Regions from separate parts of the Homo sapiens genome. Here all the other regions are linked to region 2. Evidence: promoter capture Hi-C in 16 types of primary human blood cells and fetal thymus (Javierre and others, 2016). All regions are on one chromosome and are shown on one strand. Each heading gives the region's core, a stretch centred on a gene start or on the middle of the fragment in contact. The rest is flanking DNA. Distances are from core to core; before and after follow the strand shown. Region 1 holds the start of WDFY4 (WDFY family member 4). Region 2 holds the start of PGBD3 (piggyBac transposable element derived 3). Region 3 overlaps WDFY4 (WDFY family member 4). Region 4 overlaps WDFY4 (WDFY family member 4).

What was found. Contacts are between HindIII fragments. The CHiCAGO score rates a contact against its expected background, and 5 or more counts as called.
Region 1: a contact is called between the fragment with the promoter of WDFY4 here and the fragment with the promoter of PGBD3 in region 2, in 3 of 17 cell types (monocytes, megakaryocytes and neutrophils). The highest score is 11.2, in monocytes.
Region 3: a fragment that was not itself captured here is called in contact with the fragment with the promoter of PGBD3 in region 2 in 1 of 17 cell types (monocytes); the score reaches 5.6 in monocytes.
Region 4: a fragment that was not itself captured here is called in contact with the fragment with the promoter of PGBD3 in region 2 in 1 of 17 cell types (M2 macrophages); the score reaches 5.2 in M2 macrophages.

What each region holds. Positions count from the first base shown.
Region 1 is chr10:48,683,462-48,686,338 of GRCh38, reverse strand. WDFY4 (WDFY family member 4) reads right to left here and starts at 1,466. Exons shown (of 62, transcript NM_001394531.1): 1 at 1,338-1,466. RefSeq lists enhancers at 676-1,216, 1,235-1,534, 2,465-2,544 and a silencer at 2,195-2,244. The HindIII fragment of the contact is 16,271 bases long and covers 1-2,877 here.
Region 2 is chr10:49,522,842-49,525,595 of GRCh38, reverse strand. It overlaps PGBD3 (piggyBac transposable element derived 3), which reads left to right and starts at 1,315. Exons shown (of 2, transcript NM_170753.3): 1 at 1,315-1,563. ERCC6 (ERCC excision repair 6, chromatin remodeling factor) reads left to right here. Exons shown (of 21, transcript NM_000124.4): 5 at 819-1,563. The HindIII fragment of the contact is 2,591 bases long and covers 1-2,012 here.
Region 3 is chr10:48,784,607-48,787,755 of GRCh38, reverse strand. WDFY4 (WDFY family member 4) reads right to left here. Exons shown (of 62, transcript NM_001394531.1): 20 at 886-1,117. Among named protein-coding and RNA genes, the nearest start is that of WDFY4, 100 kb to the right of the region's middle. The HindIII fragment of the contact is 1,518 bases long and covers 585-2,102 here.
Region 4 is chr10:48,840,191-48,843,210 of GRCh38, reverse strand. The region is part of intron 39 of WDFY4 (WDFY family member 4); the gene reads right to left. Among named protein-coding and RNA genes, the nearest start is that of LRRC18, 98 kb to the left of the region's middle. The HindIII fragment of the contact is 6,798 bases long and covers 1-3,020 here.

The DNA.
Region 1 (2,877 bases), core at 217-2,716, 840 kb after region 2:
CCTTCTTTTTTTTTTTTTTTTTTGGAGATGGAGTTTCATCGTGTTGTCCAGACTGGTCTTGAACTCCTGACCTCAGGTGATCTGCCCCTCTCAGCCTCCCAAAGTGCTGAGATTACAGGCGTGAACCACTGCGCCTGGCCGAAATTTTCTTTTCTTTCAACACAGAAAATCTTTCCAAGTTCATGAAAGAATAGCCCATGTGCTCAGGATGGACAGACAGGAAGGGCCTCCCTGACCTGACCCTGTTCCCTACCTCTCTGGCCAGAACCCCAGGCATGCCCCTTACCCGGCTCTGCCACACCAACCTCCACGAGGTCTCCTCCTCCAGACCCTTATCAAGAACACTTCTCAGAAACCCACAGGACTCGGCCTCCCTCACAGGTCCCCTCTCAGAAGACTAGAGCCATCCCCACCCTCCCAAGACCCCCACCCTACCTGCTATTCTCCCACCTGCTGAGCACCGTAGACCCCTGTCCGCTTTGACCAGAGCCTGGCAGGGCGTGGTTTCTCAATACCTATTTGTTAAATAACTAAATGAATGACTATACATAAACTCATATTAAAATTAGTGTGCTCCATGGAAAGGGTAATGCATAGAGCCCTTAGTTATCAAACCAGCCCCCCCACACTTTAGATGAGTTGGGACAAAGGATCGGTTTAGTGTTCTAGAAGTTTCATTTCAGGGGAAAAGAAGAATCAGTCCTTACTGAGCAGGTGGCCCTGCTTAGGCAGAAAATGCAGGCGTTTCAATGGTTTGCTGTAATAATTCAGATGAGGGAAGTGAGCCCAGGGAGGCACCTACTTACCAGAACCCAGTGGAGTAATGACAGGGCCGGGATAGACCAGCTCCCTCTGAGGCCCGTTGGAAATGGCCCTCCAACTCTGCACTCCTCAGAGGCCTATGAGGGAGCTTGGAGGGCGAGCCTCACTGTCCTGTCGGCCTGCTCTCTCCGCCCCCTCGACAACCAGGAAAGCCCGTGTCAGCCCTTCCCAGGGTTCCCTTCATAGCAGGACCCCGAGAAAGGACTTGACCTACCGTCAGAGGTCGAGGAGTGCTGCTGGAGCCCAGCCTGACTCCCAAACTTCAGCAGTGACACACACTCAGGCAGACCCAGGCCCTGGAGTGGCCCTGACCACATGGGCCCCCCACGCCACACACACTTCCTGCTCCCCAGCTCACCTCCTCTCCCACATTCACAAACCCAAACCAGGCACTGGGTCACATGTGCCCCATAGTCAGCCTCCCAGGAGGCAGCCAGTAGGCCCCACGCTGACAGGCGGCGCCCATATGCCCACCTCTAGGCTGGCCTGGCTGGGCCAAGAGCAAGGTGGCCTACCTGGAGGGGTGGCCGTCAGCGCCTGTAGACATCAGAAGGCATGGGCCCCCTATCCCCAGCTGCAGCCCCTCAGGCTCGGGGGAAGAGGACCCGGCCCCACATCGTCAGTCCTCAGCGCCGTTTCACTCTGAATCACTGGAGCTGGGTCTCTGCTCATTTCCTGGAGAAAGCAGAAGTGGAGAGCCGGCAGATGCCTGACTCTGCCCACTCTCCAGCCGACCACGGAGCTGCTGGAGTTCTGGCGGGTGACTTGGGTTCTGCAGCAAGGCCCCTTGGGGCTGGCTGTGCAGCCTCCGTGGTCAAGCGGTGCTGGTTGGGGCCAAGGACAAAATGGAAAGTACAGCCCAGCCCTAGAAGAGTAGGTCTGGATTCTGTGTCCCCTCTTCACTAGCCGTGTGACCACTGGTGCACACCTCTCCTCTCTGGGCCTCTGGCAAAATGAGAACAATGATGGTGTTAGGTGAATCTAATCAGAGGTGTGTTTAAGTGCACCCCTGGACATGGCATGGGTTGGGCAGCCCTCACCCCACCAAGCTCAGAGTTGCCCACTTGGATTTCTTCCTCCCCCATCCTCAGATAGAACTTGAACCACCAATGAGGGGAGTCCTCCTGCGGCCAACACTGAGGCAAGGATGAGAGGACATCTAAAACCATAGAATGGAAGTCTCTGAAACTCAGACTCCAAATTCTCATTCCTCTGAGTATATAAACTAGGCTGAATTATCCATGTCACCTATCCATAACGTCATCTCCACAGTACAAACAAGCATGTCCATTCACACACAATCCTGCTTGTGCTCTGTAAAAGGAGAATTTTGCCAAAGAGCAAGGGCACTTGTTAGCGCTAATGCCTGATCCTTGATCCTCAGTGCAGCTCATCGCTTGTCTCTAGCTCACAAAACCAGTGGACCATGCATGACTGACTGAGAGGCAGCAACAACATCACTTGTTATGACATGGAGTAAAGCTCCAAGATTGGTTTAAAGAGGAAAATAACATTTGTCACAAAACCTCAACCTCCACCAGTGCAAACTTGTCAGTAGACAGCAGCCAAAATAGGAGATCTATCCAGCTGCACTCCAGTCTGGACAGCAAGAGCGAAGCTCCGTCTCAAAAAAAAAAAAAAGAAAAAAAAGAAAAGAAAAGAGAAATTGAAAGGATACATGCAGTGCCAGCCAAGGGAAAGAGAAAACCTTAGAGAATTTGCAGTGAAGTGTTTGTTGTATATGATGAAAACCCCTCGTCATTGTCACCAATGAAATCATAAATAAAATCTACAAGAAGATATTGCCTGAAATCAGAGGCCTATGGTAAGAGCGGATTAGACAGAGGAACTTCCACAGAGGCAGGAAGGGTGGCCAGCATGGGACAGGCCAGGACCCCATGCCTGTGAATGCCCAGAGGAAGCGCGGAGAGTCTGTCATAGTGGGATCTCGCAAAGTCTGCTGGAGGGCCCACCTGCACCCAGGTCTCCTACCTTCTACCCACCCCAGCACCTTGCCGGGTAGCCAGCAGCAGGCAGGTAAAGAGCACTAAATTC
Region 2 (2,754 bases), core at 66-2,565:
ATTAAGCCTTAGGTCTTTTGGTATTTTGGTTATGTGGTAATTTTGCCAGAGATGAATTTCAACTAATGAAAGAGGGATACTTTCTGGTGACTTTACACTTATGGTGTAATGTCTTCAAGTCAGTTAACTTCACATATCTAACACAGTGCTGCTGTCCAATAGACCTTTTTGCAGTGATGAAAATGTTCTCTGTGTTGCCCATTATAGTAGCCATTAGTCACGTGTAGCTCTTGAGCACTTGAAAAAGGGCAAATGCAACTGTGGAACTGAGTTTTTAACTTAATGTAATTTAAATTTAAATAGCTGCAGGTGACTGGTAACTGCCATGCTGGGCAGCATAGAGCTGACATTTATGTTTTTCCTTTTTAGGTACATGGTGATCCCTGTTTTTGGTTTTACTGTCTCTTGAATTTAAGTCCATCTGAATGTTGGTTTTAGCAATGACGTGAGAACTTCGGAGCTTGCTTCCTCATGGACGACTACTCAGCTGATAAGGAAACACAGCTAAACTTGACTATTTATAACTGTATTTATACAGTAATAAGCCTATCTTTGGATGGCAGAGAGTATATTTATAGTGAAATATTTTGGGGAAAAGTTACTGAGAAGTTGTCTTTTTGAACAGGAATATATTAAATATAGCATGATGCTATAATTTTATTCTGTCCTTCATATGTAACATGCTTTAGTACATGGATGATTCTTTTTTTATATGAGTTATTTGTAGCTGCCTAATATTTCTTGAAAGAGTGAGCATTTCTTTTGTACCCTCGGAAAGTTTCATGCTAGTGCGAAACGCATTGCTATTGTTCTTTCAGAGCCGGGGCCATCCAGTCTTGGCAGCATGCTCATGCCTGTCCAGGAGACTGCCTGGGAAGAGCTCATCCGCACTGGCCAGATGACACCTTTTGGTACCCAGATCCCTCAGAAACAGGAGAAAAAGCCCAGAAAAATCATGCTTAATGAAGCATCAGGCTTCGAAAAGTATTTGGCAGATCAAGCAAAACTGTCTTTTGAAAGGAAGAAGCAAGGTTGTAATAAAAGAGCAGCTAGAAAAGCTCCAGCCCCAGTCACGCCTCCAGCCCCAGTGCAAAATAAAAACAAACCAAACAAGAAAGCCAGAGTTCTGTCCAAAAAAGAGGAGCGTTTGAAAAAGCACATCAAGAAACTCCAGAAGAGGGCTTTGCAGTTCCAGGGGAAAGTGGGATTGCCAAAGGCAAGGAGACCTTGGGAGTCAGACATGAGGCCAGAGGCAGAGGGAGACTCTGAGGGTGAAGAGTCTGAGTATTTCCCCACAGAGGAGGAGGAAGAGGAGGAAGATGACGAGGTGGAGGGGGCAGAGGCGGACCTGTCTGGAGATGGTACTGACTATGAGCTGAAGCCTCTGCCCAAGGGCGGGAAACGGCAGAAGAAAGTGCCAGTGCAGGAGATTGATGATGACTTTTTCCCAAGTTCTGGGGAAGAAGCTGAAGCTGCTTCTGTAGGAGAAGGAGGAGGAGGAGGTCGGAAAGTGGGAAGATACCGAGATGATGGAGATGAAGATTATTATAAGCAGCGGTTAAGGTCGGTCTGTGGGGATTATAAATACATTGTACTGTTTGCTTTATCTTAGGTGACAGGTTTATTAATATGTAAGCATTCTAGATCCAGCTTAATATATTAGACCCCCCCGATTATACAGAGGTTGGATTTCTGCAGCCTTAACCTGCTAGAAGCAGTGGGGCCCCTGAGTCCTTAATGATGCTGGCCCCAAATGCATGTACTTCTAGGTCTTTAGTTGGATTTGGAGGCAAGTCTAAGATGAAAAACTTAAGGGAAGGCTGGGGCAAGAGGCATACAGAGGGCTGAGTGTGAGCTGTGTCGCCTTTATACCGACAGTCACCCTAGAATGAGTATCAGGAAAAAGAAAAGGGTGAATTAATGCATACTGGATAGGGGTTTCTGTTTTCCCTTTTGAAGCAGGAAAGTAATTTTAGAGAACTTTTCTTCAAAAAAGAGCTGAAACTTAAGCTTTGGCATAGAAAGAATAAGCTTGCTTTTGTAAATCCTTCCTTTGTCTTGAGAAAATAGTCATCTGCATAATTATAAGCCACCATCATGCAAAAAGTGTACTTTGTATGCACAGCATACCTTTCTTTTCACTGTTGTTTTTTATGTTAGAGACTGACTTTGGCTTTTAGCTCCATGACATTGTCATTGTATAAAGCAAGCACCATAAAAGGGAAGGTGAACATGTGAAACATGAAGTCTGAATTGCATATTGCCACACGTTTTCTGAGAGCCAGGAAAAATAATCTGTATTGCAGGCCTCCCCATGGTGGCCCACTGAACACTGTGCTACTGCCGCGCATTTCAAGTCTCCTTGACTTAGAGCTCACTTAGCTCTAAGGAAGTCAAAGGGAAAAAGGAACCTTATTACTTTTAAAATACTTGATAGTGGGATGGCTTTTTCCCAATCCTCAACAGTTTTTTCTTATTTCTCAAGGTGAAGAGACCTAGTTTGTTGTATTTATTGGCCTTTGTGAGTGAAGGTTGACCTGGTGTTTTTTCTTGTTACTTAGAACTGCTCATTAACCCCCGTCCAGACACTACAGACATTCCATAACCTTTCCGAAATAGATGTGTCAATTCTTTTAAACAGTAATTTGAGGACCTGTGACTTAAATCCTGTTCTTTAGAGTTGCGGCACTCACATTCTAGTAGCACCTTATGTAGTAATGCACAGATGAGGGCTGGCTTATATTTGTCATCCCT
Region 3 (3,149 bases), core at 94-2,593, 740 kb after region 2:
TCTCCCAAGATTTGTCTTACCATGAAATAGATGCACTCCAGGTGCGAAACTACCAGAGCTTAAAACATCTGTAAAGTATATAACCTCATTCCCTAAAACCAAACTCTTAAGTGACAAGAAACCTGACTTGAAATAGGCTGATCTGAAATGTCTAATTTTCAATGAGCTGCACAGCCACGGCAAACACCCCAGTTTGAATTAACATACTGGTCTCTAAGTCAATGATACCCAATGTGCTAGTAGAGAAAGGTGCCATGAATATAGAATTGGTAAGACTTTGGCTCTAGACCTGACCTCGTCCCATTGCTCTGGCCAGTGCCATTTGCCACAGGAAATGAAATTCAAAGACATCATGGGCCTGGAGACAGAAATGCTCAAGAGCACTCAATCGCCCTTCAGCACATACAGGCTGCTGACATAGATTCATTTATCATTCTTTCCAGATGGGAGCTGACCCCTTTGACTTGACAGAGCACAGAGAACAATGCTCCCTGCTTGAATAACAACAATCAATAATGAAAATGTGGATGTTTTGTCTGCCTGTTTAATAATTGAAGTCAACAGTATACTTTAGTTAAAAAGCTTCTTCATTAAAAGCAATGTAACTTATTTATCTCATTCTCTTCTCTCTTTCTTTGCTGATGGTATTGCCCAACCCACCTCTTCCCCATTAGGGCTTTGGAGTTGAAATCTAAAGATATTGTCATTTCCTTTTCTGTGACATTTTCTCTTGGGTTGTAAATATATAATGATACAATTACAGAGGTCTTCCCTAATGACTGACTTTAACGCTGAGCTTATTCTCTGCAAATCTGCTACAAATAACTGGATGTCCATTTAAAAACTAATATCAGCAAGAACATTGTAAATCAAAACACTCCATACCTTGGACATGCACAGCTTGGAAGTTACCACAATATCTTGGGCCAAGTTTGTTAATAACTTCCAGAGTTTCCATTGAAATGGCTTCTTCAAAGAGGTATGTGGGGCCAAGACGCCAGATTAATGAAGACTTTTGTTTCCAGACTCGAGGAGTAGCAATATATCCATAAACATCCACAAATGCGGATGGATCCATAGAAAGGAAAGGCCCTGGTAGAGCCTGGATGTATAACATCTGTTAAAATAAAAAGGACAAGAGTGAGTAGTGTTTGATCTCAGAGTTAATCAAGTAAATACAAAGTGATATAACATGATGCATCTTATTCTCATCTCATAGTAAAAATGTATTTTATCTAAAAAACTAAAATATAATTCTCAAATCTCAGAAGTATGCGCAAAACAAGTTATTAAATGTGGAGTAAAAAACTGATACTGTCCTTTTGAAAATAAATTTGATAAAAAATATTAAGAAACAAAAAAGTGTACACCTTTCTTATCTCAGTCATTCTACTAAGAACCTGAATGTCTAGTATTGGCAAATTAATAGTTTTATGTATGAACAATAATTACATACATACAGAGTGGAAAGGAAGAAATAAAACTGTTTCTATCATGTCCATGTAGAAAGTTCCAAGGAATTTTTTTTAATATCCTAGAATAAGTGAATTCAGCAAGGTCACAGGATACATGATCAATACACAAAAATCAATTTTATTTGTGTAGGCTAACAATAAACAAACAGAAACTAAAATTAAACACAATACCACTTACAATTATGCACAAGAAAATGAAATACTTAGTAAGACAAGTAGAGGATCTGTATACTGAAAATTCCTAAGTGATGATGGAAAAAGTCCAAGACGACCTATATAAATGGAGAGACATACCAGGTTCATGGATAGAAAGGTTCACTATAGTAAAGATATTATTTCCCCTCGAGTTGATCAGTAAGTATAATGCAATTCCAGAAAGGTTTTTTGTAGACTATCAGAATTCCAGCAAGGTCTTTTGTAGACACAAACAAGCTAATTCTAAAATGTATATGGGAAGGCACAGGTCCTAGAATAGTTTAAACAACTCTGAAAAAGAAGAATTAATTTGGGGGAGGAACTACTCTAATAATGACTTATTATATAGCTATAAAATCAATATAGTGTGACATTGGTATAAAGATAACCACATAGATCGATGGAACAGAATAGAGAACCCAGAAATAAGCTTATATAAGAATGCTCACCTGATTTTTGACAAAGATGCAAAAGCAATTCAATTGAGAAATGATAGACTCTTCAACAAATGGTGCTGGAGCAATTGAACATCCACAGGCAAAGAAATGAACTTAAACCTTACACCTTATACAAAAATTAATTCATAATTGATTGCAAACTCTAGTGTAAAACGTAAAACTAGAAAATTTTTAGGGAAAAAAATAGGAGAATATCTTCAGGATCTAGGACTAGGCAAAATATTCTCAAACGACACCAAAAGCATGAGTCATATAAGGAAAAACTAATGAATTATATTTCAGCAAAACCAGAAATTTTACCCATGTGAAAGAGGATTAAAAGACATGCTACAGACTAGGAGGAATTATCGCAAATCACATATCTAACAAAGGACTAGTGTCTAGAATATATATGTATATATATAGACACACATACACATATATGTATACATTTTAAAACCCTAAAACCCTTAAAACTCAACAGTTTAAGGCCAGGCGCAATGGCTCACGTCTGTAATCCCAGCACTTTGGGAGGCCGAGGCAGGCGGATCACGAGGTCAGGAGATCGAGACCATCCTGGCTAACATGGTGAAACCCTGTCTCTACTAAAAAACACAACAAACATTAGCCAGGCATGGTGGTGGGTGCCTGTAGTCCCAGCTACTGGGGAGGCTGAGGCAGGAGAATGGCGCGAACCCAGGAGGCGGAGCTTATAGTGAGCCGAGATCGCACCACTGCACTCCAGCCTGGGGTGACAGAGCGAGACTACTCCGTCTCAAAAAAAAAAAAAAAAAAAAAGTAAACGATGCAACTGGGTGTGGTGGCTCATGCCTGTAATCCCAGCACTTTGGGAGGCTGAGGTGGGCAGATCACGAGGTCAGGAGATTGAGACCATCCTGGCCAACATAGTGAAAACCCATCTCTACTAAAAATACAAAAATTAGCTAGGCATGGTGGTGGGCACCTGTAGTCCCAGCAACTCTGGATTCTGAAGCAGAAGAATCACTTGAACCCAGGAGGCAGAGGTTTCAGTGAGCCGAGA
Region 4 (3,020 bases), core at 392-2,891, 680 kb after region 2:
ATGGAGGTGAGATCTGGTTAATCTTTCCAAACTAGATGTTTCCGTTCAGGTTGAAGTTGTTGGGGAAGGAACTGAGTATCTGTCCCTAAGGACTTTTCGGTATCATTTAGATACAATGCACCTTTAAACGGGCAGTGGTTGTTACCTGGATGAGAACATTCCATTGATTCGTGGAGCTTGCATAACCTCAGTGCCTTCCTTGTTGGAAGGGTTTTCAGACCATAGTCTTGTTGCCAAAAGCAAACCAACTTTAACCCCATTTTTTGGGAGGCTGCATGGCCAAAAGAACAGTCAAAGAGATGGCATTTGGGTCACTCTCAGATTGCAGAACCCATGGTAGAGAGACAGACTCCTCCTTCAGCGACAGTTGTAGACCAGGAAGAGTGTGACTGGCAGGAGATAGGCAAGCAAGCCATGGACAAAGCAAGTCACTGTAGCTACTGATAATTCATTAAGTGTGTGGACTTTGCACTTAAGTCACAACATGGCAGACTACATTTTAAGATAAGGTTTAAGAACAAGAACCAACATTTCTGGTACAGGAAATTTTTATCAACTAGCTGAGGTAGGAGCTTGCTGCACATTAGGAGAAGATCAGCATCATCCGGTTTAAGCATCAGGGTCCCTTTGTTAGTTCGGGGTCTCTGCTAGCCCAGCCATTGTCCTTCGAGTGAACTTGCAGGAGAAAGCCCCTCTGGACAGTCAAATGAGAACAAGGCGTCCTCCTCTGGGCAGCCGCGGACCGCACCACAGCTCAGGTCCTGCTGCAGAGCTCAGAAGTCAGGACACACCTGGCGACTGCTGTCTCTGGCACAGGCGACCATTCCCTGCAGTGAGGACACTGCTTGTCGCAGACCAGCTGGTTTCACATCTACCACCAGCTGCTGTGCAATGATGATGCCTGTCTTTCTCTGCTTGGGCCCTCAGGATAGCTTCCCGCACCCACATTGATGGGCTGTTAGTGGTTCTGCCAGTTCTATTCAGAGTCAGGCCCTGACACTGATCCTTTTAAGGGGACAAAGGACAGTCTCTCTTAAACCTCTGTATTTGCTTTGCATTTATCTCAAATCTTCTCCACACAAAACTGAGGGGCCTGGATCCAGTACCAATTATTCCTGGAAAAATCATCCAAGAAGAAGTTGAGGGAGTTTGATGTCATGAGTAGAGACTTTCTCTTCTCATCTGCATCAGGTGACATCAGCTTGATGCTCAAGTGGTCCGGCATCTTCATGTACAAAGATAACAGAGTGGACATCACATCCACTGAACTAGCTGCTTTATTAAAAGATAGGCATTCAGGATTCAATCAGAATTGTTTTAAAAATGAAAGCTATGGAGACTTGAACATGCTGGCTTCTATCTTGGGTAGCCTGTTCCCAGCAGGTGTGCAGTGACTCTGTGATGTTTCAGGAAGACCCCTAATCTAAGAAGGTTACTGCGTTTAGCACTACAGTGTGCCCATTCCAGTTATAATATTTTATCAGAAGCCATCATGATCTCAGATGGAGAATATTCCATTGATTCACAGGGCTTGCACAAGCTCCGTGTCTGCTCTCTGCCCTAAGAAAGCAGGAAAATGTGAGCTTACAACTAAGGATGGCTGGACTTCAAGTTTGATATGTGCAGTTTCTCTTTCCTGCATGGGTAAGGGAATGTGTGTAACCTATTTTCAGCAAGTCATGGATGATACTCCCTGAACCTAACCTGACAGAAAACATACATTAGAAGATTTGCCCTAAAATACCTTTAAAGGGAAAGCTCAGCTAGAGAATTTAAGGCAGGAATTACAGAAACTTTTCCGAAAAAAAAAAAATCAGTTGTGATATGTTTAAACATGAAGGACACAAATACAAACAAACATTAAATAAAATGATCAAATAAGAAAAAAGCACAAAATGATCAAATAAGAAAAAAGCACAAAGTGCAGTAACAAATATATCAATGGAACAGTCTGTGTCTTATAGTACTTATTACCTTGCTACCACTCAAGAGCTGAACAGCCCAATGGAAACTTTAATATATACCACTAGCAGCAAAATAACTGCTTTTATTGAAGAAGAAACAAACAAAAACTGTGTTGCTCTAAGCAATTTTGAAATGAATATCTGATTCAAAACTTCCCCTGTGCATATAATTGTATGCTAATTTACATTTTAATTACTTCCTAAGAAATCAAAAGCATTTGTTGACAGTAGAACATAATGTCAACTTCACGGTGCTCTGTTGGTGGATGCTTAATGAACTTAATTAGATAATTAGTGATGTTAATTATCCTTCTATTATGAAGATAAAGATGTCTCACAAATGATGCACTCAGTAAAGAAACATCATTAAAGGTATCAGTGTTTGCTTTGTTCATTTACATGTATTTTTCAGACTCCTATAACAGACACTTGTGATAGACCAGAGACACTTAAGACTCCTTAAAATGGAAAAAGAAAAACCACTGTCTTTCTTCATCCAGCTCTTATCCTTCCCCCTTATTCTGGATACTAATGCTGTACTGGTGATGTTGCCACTTTTTCAAAATCTGGGCTGTAGGGAACTCTCGTCCTTGTTCAGTTCTGCTGCTGAGTTTCTGGTGCAATTGATCAGACTCCTTCCCGCTTCCTTCTCACTGGTGTGATAGGTGAATTCTAATGTCAATTGCTTGCACAATGGGATGTGTCTATGTGTGTGTGGGTGGGGGTGTGCATATACACGTGTGTGTGTGTGAGAGAGAGAGAAAGAGAGTGGGGGTGTGTGTGTGTGTGCGTGAGAGAGGTGTGTGTGTGTGTGTGTGTGTATGTGTATGTGTGTGTGTGTGTCAAGGGAAGAGCAAAAATGAGAGAGAAGGCTCTGGTTGAGTGTCCAGAAAACCTAAAAGGATAATGGAGCCCCTCCCCACCGCCCCAGGCTGGTTGAATTTCCCTGATGCTGCAGTGTGTCCCCACCTCCATCACCAGACTCTGTCCCTCTGGGGAAGGTCATTCTGGGTGTGGCGTAGGAAGCACGGCTGCCTGCAAGACTGAGGGCAATGA